Linked DNA regions of Homo sapiens: region 2 is linked to region 1. The links are contacts of gene promoters, found by promoter capture Hi-C in human tissues and cell types (Jung and others, 2019). All regions are on one chromosome and are shown on one strand. The core of a region is centred on a gene start or on the middle of the fragment in contact, and the rest is flanking DNA. Distances in the headings are between cores, read along the strand shown. Region 1 holds the start of APC2 (APC regulator of Wnt signaling pathway 2). Region 2 overlaps DAZAP1 (DAZ associated protein 1).

Region 1 (5,015 bases), core at 2,516-5,015:
TCGAGCCGTTGGGGAGGGCTCCGGGCCGCGCAGGAACGGGGCGGGGTCCACACCGCGGGAACAGCGGGCGCGGCGGCGGGGGGCGCATGGGGCGAGCGCGCGGAGGCTGCAGAGTCGGGGGTCTAGTGCCGTCGCCGTAGAGACCGTTGCCGGGAAACCGCCTCGGAAGGCTGGCGGGGATGGAAGCCCCTCTCGTGCGCCGCTGCGACCCCCAGCCCCGGGTCTGCGCAAGCGCAGGGCTCGCCCAGCCCAGCCCTCGGCCTCTGCAGGAGACCCTCGGACCCCTCCTCACTGCGCCGACGCGGAGGCTGCGCCAGCTGGGGCGGCGGGGGCGGCTGCGGGGGCATCCTGCGGAGGCTCGGCCCTGCGCAGGGTGGGGGCCTGGGCCACGCCCTGCGCTTCTTTGGGCCTCAGTTTCCCCTTCTGGGCGCGAGCGTATGGCCTGCTTTGACGTTCGCCGCCGCTGCTGTTCGTATCCGTCCGCTCCCGACCCCAGCGCTTCTCCAGCCTCCGGAATCGTCTGAATTTCGCGGCTGTGACATCCCTCATTGGAGGGGAAACTGAGGCTGGGGGGTGCAGCGGGGAGCCCAAGGTCACGCTTCGAGGCCGGAGCCTCGTTGCGGAGCTAAGGCGCCCGCAAGAGAACGCGGGGCGGGGGCCGGGGAGCTGTCCGCGGTGCTGACGGAGGCGCACGTCTGCCGACTCGCCGCCGGGGAAACTGAGGCCCATAGCGGCGGTCAGGCTTCAGGGCGCGGCCTGGACCGGCCTACCCCACCCTCCCCCACCTCCGGTGGCCTCCTCACCGGTCAGGGCTCTGCCCGGCCACCCAGCCGGCGGCGGGCCGTCTCTATCCTCCCGCGATGACCTGGTGCCTTCTCTGTCCCCACCCAGCTCCCGATGGGGGCCGCCCCTGTTTCTGCCTCTAGCCCCTGGCACAGAGGAGGCATCAAGGGGGCGGGGACAGCTCGAGGTCAGACTCAGAAGGCTCAAAGACACTCCAAGAGTGAGCCGTGTGCCAGGCTGCGGACTTGCGGGGAGGTGTCACAGGACAGGGGTGGGGGAGTGAGCATTTCATGGAACTTCCCCTTTAGCCCAGCAGCAGTAGGGGGCGTGGAGGACCCCAGGGAGGAGCCTAGGTCGGGGTCTTGGGCTAGGCCCTGCGTTCTGCAGTGGGAGAAGGGGGAGACCTCTCTCAGTCTCCTGAAGTCCTAGGGGGCTGTGGGGGGTTCTTGAGGCTCTGAAATGTCTGGTGATGTCTGAGTGTGGCTGTGGTTCAAGGATTTACAGGGTCGAGGATTTTAGTGTGTGGGGGGGGATTGTTCAGGGACATAATGTTTTGTAGATTTGGGGCCAAGGGCATCTTGTCTTGGGGTCTCAGCCCCCATGTACCCTCAGCCCTCCAGGCCCTGGCCACCCCCAGAGGGATAAGAAGGGAGGTTCAGTGTCACTCCGGAGGCCTGGCTGGCACAGGTGAACTCAGGCAACACGTTCCCTGGCCCAGGCCTCAGTTTCCCCATGTATACAAGGACAGGACTGACCTTGGATCCCCCAAACCCCTGCCTGATGGGGGCCTGGGGAGCTGAGACATCTGAAACTACACAGGGAGGTGGGACTTAGTTCCTCTTTGGGGGAGGCAGGGATCATCCAACCCACCCTTCAGTAAACAAGACTGGAAACCGAGGCCAGAGAGAGACATGCCCAGGGGGACACAGGGACAACAAGGCTGAGCTGAAGCCAGGGCCCTGGGCTCTGCATCCCCAACCCCATTTCAGCCTCGCCCAGCTCTGCCCCGGCTTGACCTGTCAAACCCCACCACGCGCCCTACCCCATGGCTCCACCAGACACCCCCTGTGTCCCAAGCATGCATTGATCTTCCCTCAGCCTGGAACGCCTCTCCTCCTGATCACTGCTGTTCACTTCTCAGGGCAGCCTTCCAGCCTCCAGAAAAAAATCCCCTTCGAGGCGGGCGGATCATGAGGTCAGGAGTTTGAGACCAGCCCGACCAACACGGTGAAACCCCCTCTCTATTAAAAATACAAAAATTAGCTGGCAAGGTGGTACATGCCTGTAATCCCAGTTACTGAGGAGTCTGAGGCAGGAGAATCACTTGAACCCAGGAGGCGGAGGTTGCGGTGAGCCGAGATGGCGCCACTGCACTGCAGCCTGGGGGACAGAGCAAGACCCCATCTAAAAAAAAAAAAAAAAAAAGGCCGGGCGTGGTGGTTCACGCCTGTAATCCCAGCACTTTGGGAGGCCGAGGCGGGTGGATCACGAGGTCAGGAGATCGAGACCATCCTGGCTAACGTGAAATCCCGTCTCTACTAAAAAATACAAAAAATTAGCCTGGGCGTGGTGGCGGGCGCCTGTAGTCCCAGCTACTCGGGAGGCTGAGGCAGGAGAATGGCGTGAACCTGGGAGGCGGAGCTTGCAGTGAGCCGAGAACGTGCCACTGCACTCCAGCCTGGGCTACAGAGCAAGACTCCGTCTCAAAAAAAAAAAAAAGAAAAAAAAGAAAAAGAAAAAAGAAAAGATCCCCTGTGTCTGCCCACTGCATTGCCTCCCCAGACCCAACCAGTGGGGACAGCTGCGTCCAGCTCTGGGGGCTCCCAGACAGCCAGGCCGAAGGGCTCTCAGCCCCTGGCAGTGCTGGCCCGGGACAAGGCCCTCGGGTCTTCAGCTCAAGGCCCAACAGGAAACAGCACGGGTCCTCCCTTGCCTTTGTCTACGGGGCCTTGAATACTCGGACCTTCCCACCCTCTCCTATCATTCCCTGCACCAGCCCTTGCAGAATCTTCCGCCTCCTCTCCATTTTACAGAGGAGGAAACCGAGGGTTGAGCGGCGAATGATTTGCCCTGCCTGCCCAGCACGGAAAAAAATCACTCTTCTGGCCCCAGTCGCCTCCCTTTCTGTGCTGTGAGTCTGTGTCCAGAGCAGGAAGGGCTGCTCCGAGCTGCAGGGACGGGCTCTGTGTGTTAAACCTTCAAATGGCTTCCAGGGACTCATGGAGCATCCAGGACACCTGGAGATGGCGACTCCTGGGACCCCTGGCCCTTCCCTCCTCTGGCCTTCGGTCCGTGAGGGTGAATTAAGTGTGCCACCCACCAGGGGCAGAGACACATGGAGACAGAGATTGAGAGACAGAGAACAGAGGGGGAGACAGAAAGAGAGAGGGACATGAAGAGCAACGGAGTTACAGGAGGATCTGACGCTCCGTTGGGGAGACAGGGAGAAATGTGGGGAGATGCAGCGTCCCAGGTGCTCCCCAGTGGCCCTGCCCCTCCTCCCCTCTCCCCTCCCCACCAGGCAGGACCCTCAGGGAGCTCCAGCCTGGACCCGAACCCTGTCCCACCCTGACGCACCTGCACCAGGCCAGGCTGGACCTGTGGGGTGGGTGCAGGCCTGGCCCCAGCCCGGCCACTGCCCTGGAAACCCCTCCCCCGCCAAGATGCTGATGTAACATCCAGGATTTGATGTTTTACTCTCCAATTCTGCAAATCCAGACGCAGGAGGTTTTAAGAGGCCGTTGCACCCTGCAATAAAGTGCGGGACACAGGAATCTTGGTCCTCGGGGCACCCCCTTCCCTCGGGGGGGTTTCGCCCCCCGCACTCACGGCCCCTGAGCCCGCGCGGAGGCCCGACGCCCCGCGGCCGACGCCGGTCCCCGCCCCGGGCCGCCATTGGCTGTTGCCATGGCACCAGCCCGTCTTCCCGCGCCCTCATTGGCTGTCTCACCCGCATCCCTCATCCCGCATCCTCCCCCGCTCGCGGTGGTCTCGCCCAGCGCTAGGAGCGGCAGCGCCGCCTGCCCAGGCCCGGACCGGGCTTTGTCCGCCCCGGAGCCCCTGCCCGCGCCGCGGAGACCCCGGAGCCCGCGCGCTCCGAGGCCACCCCGGGCCGGGATTTCCGGTGGGGCCCGCGGAGCCGCGCAGAGGGAGGAGGCCCCAGACCCAGGCGCCCCGCCAGCCCAGCTGCACGTAAGCGGGTGTGTGTCCTCGGGGAGGAGGGCAGGGGCGCGACCTCCGCCTCGCGTCGAGGTTTCCATCCCTGGCTCTCAGCATTGCCCGTCAGCACAGACTCTGGACCCTCCATTTCCCCAGAGTGGGAGCTGGAGGGGAAACTGAGTCCCGGTGAGCTGGGCGTCAGCGTTTCTGCAGCCGGTCCTGCGCACACACCCACTCACGGGCTTCACCATCCGGACCTCCCTGAGGTGATCGGAGGAAGGGATGGGCAGGCCAGTGGTGTGTCTTCGGGGGTGTTGCTGCACCTCTCTGGGTGTCAGTTTCCCTCTCTGGAAAGAGGGGGTTTGGATTAAAGGAAGGAGAAAGGCCCCTTTGGGCCTGGCTTCCCATACCTGTGCCTCCCTCCCCTGAAATGCAGCCCGCTCAATAAGACCAGCCCCCAGTCATGGTGCCTTCAGGGAGTGATCGCTCAGGAAGGCCCCCAGGAGGCTACACGATGCAACCTGGGGGTGAAAGTAGGCAGAAGAGCTTCGTGGAAGAAGCTGCACTGTGTGGGATGGCAGGACTTAGAAAAGGTGCTCTAGGCAGGGCAACTGCACGTGCAAAGGCCTGAGAGAAGAGAGCCTCCAGCCTCTAAGTGAGTCGCGGTGTACATGGAGGAGTCGGAGCGTATCCTGAGGGCACTGGGGAGCCATGGAAGGTGTTTGAGCATGGGAGAAATGGGATCTCACTTGTGACGTTTAAAGCTCCCTCTGGCTGTGCATGGGGGACTGTGGGAGGCCAGGAAGAGGCTGATCAGAATGTCCTCACAGAGGGGTGTCAGGAGCTGGGGGAGGCATGATCCCGCTGGGCAGAGCTTGGAGGGACTAGCTTAGTCTGATGAGGATGCAGAAATGACCACCGAATGTGGGGAGAGGGAAGGTGTCTGAGGCTTGGCTTCGGTCAGCTGAGAAGAACCACGTGGGGGAGGCCTGGGTTTGGGGAGCAGGAGGCAGACATGTGTTGCTTTGCACGTCATCTGGTCCTTCCACCTGGCTGGGCATGGGATGGTGACC
Region 2 (5,500 bases), core at 2,325-4,824, 37 kb before region 1:
ACTGCTCACTGCCATGGAGGAGGCAGGAGATCCCGCCGGACCCCGCTTGGAGGGCTGGGCCTGGAGCATGCATGGGTGCGGGGTCAACGCCTCAGGAGACTTGGAGCTTGGGAGCCCCCTGTTCTGGGACACTTGTGGCCGTCCAGCTGCTGCCCTGGGAATCCACACCTGGAAGGTGGGTTAGGGAGCCATCCTTGGGGGAAGCTCTGCTTTTGAGTCTGAGAAGTCGTCCCAAGTTTTGAGGGTCCCTGTGCTGGCTTAGAAGTCCATGTAAAGCTTGATGGGGGATGAAAGTCAGCTGAGGCCTGCCGGTGATAACGGATGCCTTACACACACCGACTTCCAGTCAGCTTGAGGGGGGCTTCATGCAGGAGGAAGCGCATACGTGTGGTGGGGTGTGGGGAGTCCCTCTCTGGATCCTGGTGGGTTTGGCACGCGGACCCTACATGGTGGATGTGATGGACAGTGTCCTCCTTTGGGAGCGGGGCCTGTCCTGGTCCTCTTGTGAAGGGTGGGGGACAGGCACTGACCTGTCAGGAGGGTTAGAGGGTTGGCACCAGCAGGTGGCCTGGAGCGCTCAGAGCACGCGCGATCAGGAAGGCCCGAGTCTCCAGTGTGCCCTCCCTGGCCTTGTGAAGTCATCTTAAAGTCTGGCTTGAGCGCCTCTGACTTGGATTCTGGGAAGCTGACACAGCGCGGCCGGGGTCGCCACATCCTGTTGAGTAGCCGCTGGGTGCTAGGCGCCTGGGTGGTAGACCAGGTGTCAGGGATAGGGCCCATGCCTGGCCTACTGGGGAGAGGACAGAGGCTCAGAGGGGTCACCTCGAGCGCCCAGGCCATTGTGTTCTGCTGGCTTCCAAGGCAGCACACGGTCATGGAACTGGAGAGAGAGGTTTATGGAAGATTTTATCTGGTACACTGGGGAATGGTAAGACAGGGACACCTGGAAATATTGTAGGAAAGTCACAGAGGGAGGAAGGACTCAGCGGAGAGAGGAGAAAGCCGCCTCTGGGCAGCTTCGAGGATACCCAGGACTGTGGCCGGGGGCCATGCAGCTCAGAGCCAGGCCCATGGCAGGTCTCTGGGTTTATTGGGTGGCTGTGGAAGGAGACATCCTGAGTGGGGCTCCTGGCTGGGCCCCTAGAGGCCGTGACTACTTGTACCTGTGCAGAGTGAGCACAAGGCACCTGGCAAGATTGTTGGTCAGGCCAGAGAGGGCCGTGATCTGGGGGAGGCTGTTGCAGTGCGGGGAGTGATAGGGAACCTCATGGGGCCGTGCCGGCCTTTCTGGGGCTCTCTTGGTGCATTTGGAGTTATTCCGAGGCAGGTCTCCTGGGCTCTGTCAGCACTCTGGCCTGGATCACTCTGGGGCACCGTGGGCACTGCAGGGTGCTGGGCAGCACCTTTGGCCTCCATTCACTCCGGGTCAGGAGTACCCCCAGTCGTGACAACCACAAATGTTCCCAGACATCACCCAGTGTCCTGCTGGGGGGAGAGCCACTGTCTGGGAGCATCTGTGCTTTTGGCCTGGTTGCCCCTGCGCTGGGGGCCGCTGCTCCTTGTGGTTTATGGCTTGTCCTGTGTCGGCTCCTTTGATTCCTGTGAATGGGCCTTGAGGGTGGATGTGCTCCTGACTGGCTCGCCTTGGCTCCAATGGTCTGGAGCAGGCCGGTGTCTAGAAAGGCAGCAGCATGGACCCTGGCGCTTGCCCTTCACACAGCAGCTCCCCAGTGGCCCAGAGCTAGCAGCAGCGCGCAGCGTGCCCAGCTGTGCTTGTAGCCTTGGCTCTAACCCTTGGCTTTGCCAGAGAGACTGAGGCACAGAGGAGTTGAGGGATGGGCCCGGGGTCACCCCAGGGGGTGGAAGATCCGGAGCTGGGAGTCCACACTCCTCCACTGCCCGCCCCGCACAGAGGGCGCTCCTGGTCAGGCGGCTATGTTCATGGTGCGACCCGTCAATCTGAGGTTGTGCTGTCTTCTGTGAACTGAGGCCTTTTCCCATCCAGGCCTGGTCCCCGTGACACCATGTCATGATGTCAGAATCCCTGAGAGCTGTGACAGGGCTTTTGGCAGAGGCCAGTCATTCGACAGATGCTTATAGGCTGAGCTTCCAGCTTGGCTCCAGGCGTTGCCAAGGAGAACACTGGTCCGCCTGGGAGGGCGGGGCTGGCAGGGAGAGGATGAGGGTGACCACAGTTAGCACCCAGGATGTGGGCATTCAGGGGCTCCTTCAGCACACAGCAGCGCGTTCCAGTTCACGGACCGCTCCTGTGTTCTGTGGACCCCACACCCTGCAGGCGTGGGCTGGAGGGGGGGCATCTGACCCTGCTGGGGAGAGGGAGTCCAGGCTATGGAGGGGCGGGCTGGGCTCACTGGCCTGAGGCAGTGGGTGAAGTGGTCCTGGTTTCCCACCTGGTCTTAGGGGCAGGAAAGTCCCTAGAGGCTCTTCCTGATGCTCTGGAAGAAGAGAAGGGTTCCCCACACATCAGCCGCCACTGGGCCTGGACTTCTGCCTCTTGAGATTGTGCACGGAGCTGAGTGTGACTGGCGGAGCCCAGAGCCAGGTGGGGTCTGTGGGGAGGCAGGCTCCTCCTGGCTTGGTCCCCCGGCCCAGCAGGAAGGGAAAGGTCGCCTGCCAACTGCCCCCATTGAGGCTGCTGGCCCCGAATGGCCGGGCTGGCCGCCGGTTTTTGAAGCCCACTCTGGTGCTGCCAGGAGGTCAGGGCTCTTTGTGGTCAGCCTAGGCCAGAGGAAGCCTCTGCAGATGGACTTTACGCATAAATACCGCACAGGCACCCGAATGGCACGCAGCAAGCGAGGTTGCCATCCAAAACGGCTTTTGCTTTAACAGGCAGAAGAGGGTGGCTGCGCCGGCCACCGTGGATTGAGCACCTGCCAGGTGTCGAGCTGCAGGCCCTGGGTGCCAGGCTTGCAGATCCTGGGAGATGTTCATCATGACCTTTGATGGGCAGACTGCACGCTGGACTCCAGGTTGCAAGGGAAGAAGTGGAGCTCGTCCCACGCCTCCCCCACTAATGAGAACACCCCTTTTGGGTTTGTGGGGTGTGAGGTCTGTAGGAGCCACGACTTCCAGTGTCGGAGATGCCGTCAGCTGGGTGATGACTCTCCCACCCAGCGGGCCCCTCAGAGGCAGGGTGCAGGAGCCACATTGCTCACCGACCCCTTCATCTGCGTAGGCCAGTGTTGCCTTGCCCCGTTAACGTCCTCAGTCCACACGCCGCCAGCCAAGGTGCAGGCTGAGCAAGCCTGGAGCTGAGGACAAGCGGACCGCCAGCCCCGTAGCAAGCCCACGAGAGCCAGCAGCTCCTCCTTTTGGCCTCTGCCCGCGCCCGGCTTCCTGGACTCCGACGTTTACTTGTGTGAGAGTTGGTTCTGCTGCCTGGGCAGTTGATGGACAGTGTCTGGGAGGTGCCTGCCCAGGGCTCCGCATGTTTCTGATGTGCCGGCTTCTCACTCACGACCTGGTGAGGTTGGCAGCCAGGAGCTTTCTTATTTTATTGATTAAAACATCCTGAGATTCAGAAGTAGGGACTTTGTGCCAGGGCCCTGGAGGCAGTCCCTGCCACTGAAGAGATGACCCTGCTTTCCGGGACTTCCCGGAGGCTTCTGTCTGTAGACCAGGGAGAAGGTGTTCGCCGGTGGCTCCTGAGTGGTAGTAAAAGACACATGGACACAGGAAGCTTTAGCGTTAGAAGCTGCTCTCAAATATCTCAACAGAAACACACAGTGTGGCCGCGCGCGGTGCCTCACGCCTGTCATCCTAGCACTTTGGGAGGCCGAGGCGGGCGGGTCACCTGCGGTGGGGAGCTCCAGACACAGCTATGTGAAACGAAAGCTATCTGTTGCTGTCTCAGATTCCATAAGGACTGAGACTTGTTTCAAAAGAAACTGAAATTCTGTCTTGTTCTCAGTAATGAAAGTCTTTTATACCATAATTGTATATATAACTTCTGACTTACAGGAAAATTACAAAAATTCCCATATCCTCTTGGCCCTGCCAGACTCACCATTGGCTGACATTTTACCCTTTGGCACGTGGTGCCTCTTGCCCCACCCCCAGTGAACTGTGTGTGTGTGTGTGTGTGTGTGTGTGTGTGTGTGTGTGTGTTTAGATGGACCCTCACTCTGTCGCCCAGGCTGGAGTGCAGTGGCTTGATCTTGGCTCAGTGCAACCTCCGCCTCCCGGGTTCAAGCAGTACACCTCGAGCTCAGCCTCCCGAGTGGCTAGGATTACAGGTGCGCACCACCGAGCCCAGCTAATTTTTGTATTTTTAGTAGAGATGGGGTTTTGCCATGTTGGCCAGGCTGGTCTCGAACTCCTGACCTCAGGTGATCCGCCCACCTCAGCCTTGCAAAGTGCTGGGATTACAGGCGTGAGCCAGTGCACCCATCCCCACTGTGTGTGTTTCTACTGAAATATTTGAGAGTAGCTGGAGACCGATGCAGTCCCCTTTATGTGTACACTGAGATATCTATTGTTTCCCAAGAACAATGACATTCTCTCACATGAACACAGCACAGTGATCAAAATTGAGAAAGTGGCCGGGCGCAGCTACTCACGCCTGTCATCCCAGCACTTTGAGAGGCCGAGGCTGGTGGATCACGAGGTCAAGAGATTGAGACCATCCTGGCCAATATGGTGAAACCCCGTCTCTACTAAAAATACAAAAATTAGCTGGCGGGCGCCTGTAGTCCCAGCTACTCGGGAGGCTGAGGCAGGAGAATCGCTTGAACCCGGGAGGCGGAGGTTGCAGTGAGCTGAGATCGCGCCACTACACTCCAGCCTGGGCAACACAGCGAGACAATTTTTCAAAAAAAAATTGAGAAAGTATTTATTATTTTTTAAAATTGTATTTGAGTATTTTTTATTTTTTTAATTTTATTTAAGAGTATTTTTTATTTTTTTTTTAATTTTATTTAAGAGATGAGATCTCTGTCACCCCTGCTGGAGTGCAGTGACACAATCACGGCTCACTGCAGCCTCGACCTTGACTCAAACGATCCTTCTGCCTCAGCCTCCCAAGTAGCTGGGACTACAGGTGCCTGCCACCACCTGGAGTCTCGTTACGTTGCCCAGGCTGGTCTTGAACTCCTGGCCTCCCGTAATGCTGTGATTATAGGCGTGATCTGCGCCCAGCTGAGAAAGACAGTACTGATACCAGGTTATCTAACCCCCCCGGCCCTGTTTCAGGTTTCTCAGCTGAGCGTTTCTAGCCCTTCCCCCTTAATACACAATTTTTGAAATTTAAATGAAGACCGAAACTGGACTGGTCTGACGAGTTCCTTCTGCCAGTGAGGTGGGGGTGGAGGGGGTACTGGGCTGCTTGGAGGACACCTGCCTGTTACCTGGCTGTTGGGTGGGTGCAGTGCTGACTACAGGCTGCTGTTTCTTCAAGTGACTTGGATTTGGTTTGGTTTTCAGGGTTTTATGTGTGTGTGTGTGTGTGTGTGTGTGTGTGTGTGTGTTTTGTTTTTTTTTT

Evidence for each region. Contacts are between HindIII fragments. The study calls those that stand out against the background at their distance.
Region 2: a contact is called between a fragment that was not itself captured here and the fragment with the promoter of APC2 in region 1, in 1 of the 25 tissues and cell types used here (dorsolateral prefrontal cortex).

What each region holds. Positions count from the first base shown.
Region 1 is chr19:1,446,356-1,451,370 of GRCh38, forward strand. APC2 (APC regulator of Wnt signaling pathway 2) reads left to right here and starts at 3,766. Exons shown (of 15, transcript NM_005883.3): 1 at 3,766-3,983. RefSeq lists silencers at 575-869, 3,613-3,812. The HindIII fragment of the contact is 30,284 bases long and covers 1-5,015 here.
Region 2 is chr19:1,409,905-1,415,404 of GRCh38, forward strand. The region is part of intron 1 of DAZAP1 (DAZ associated protein 1); the gene reads left to right. Among named protein-coding and RNA genes, the nearest start is that of DAZAP1, 5.1 kb to the left of the region's middle. The HindIII fragment of the contact is 3,172 bases long and covers 1,989-5,160 here.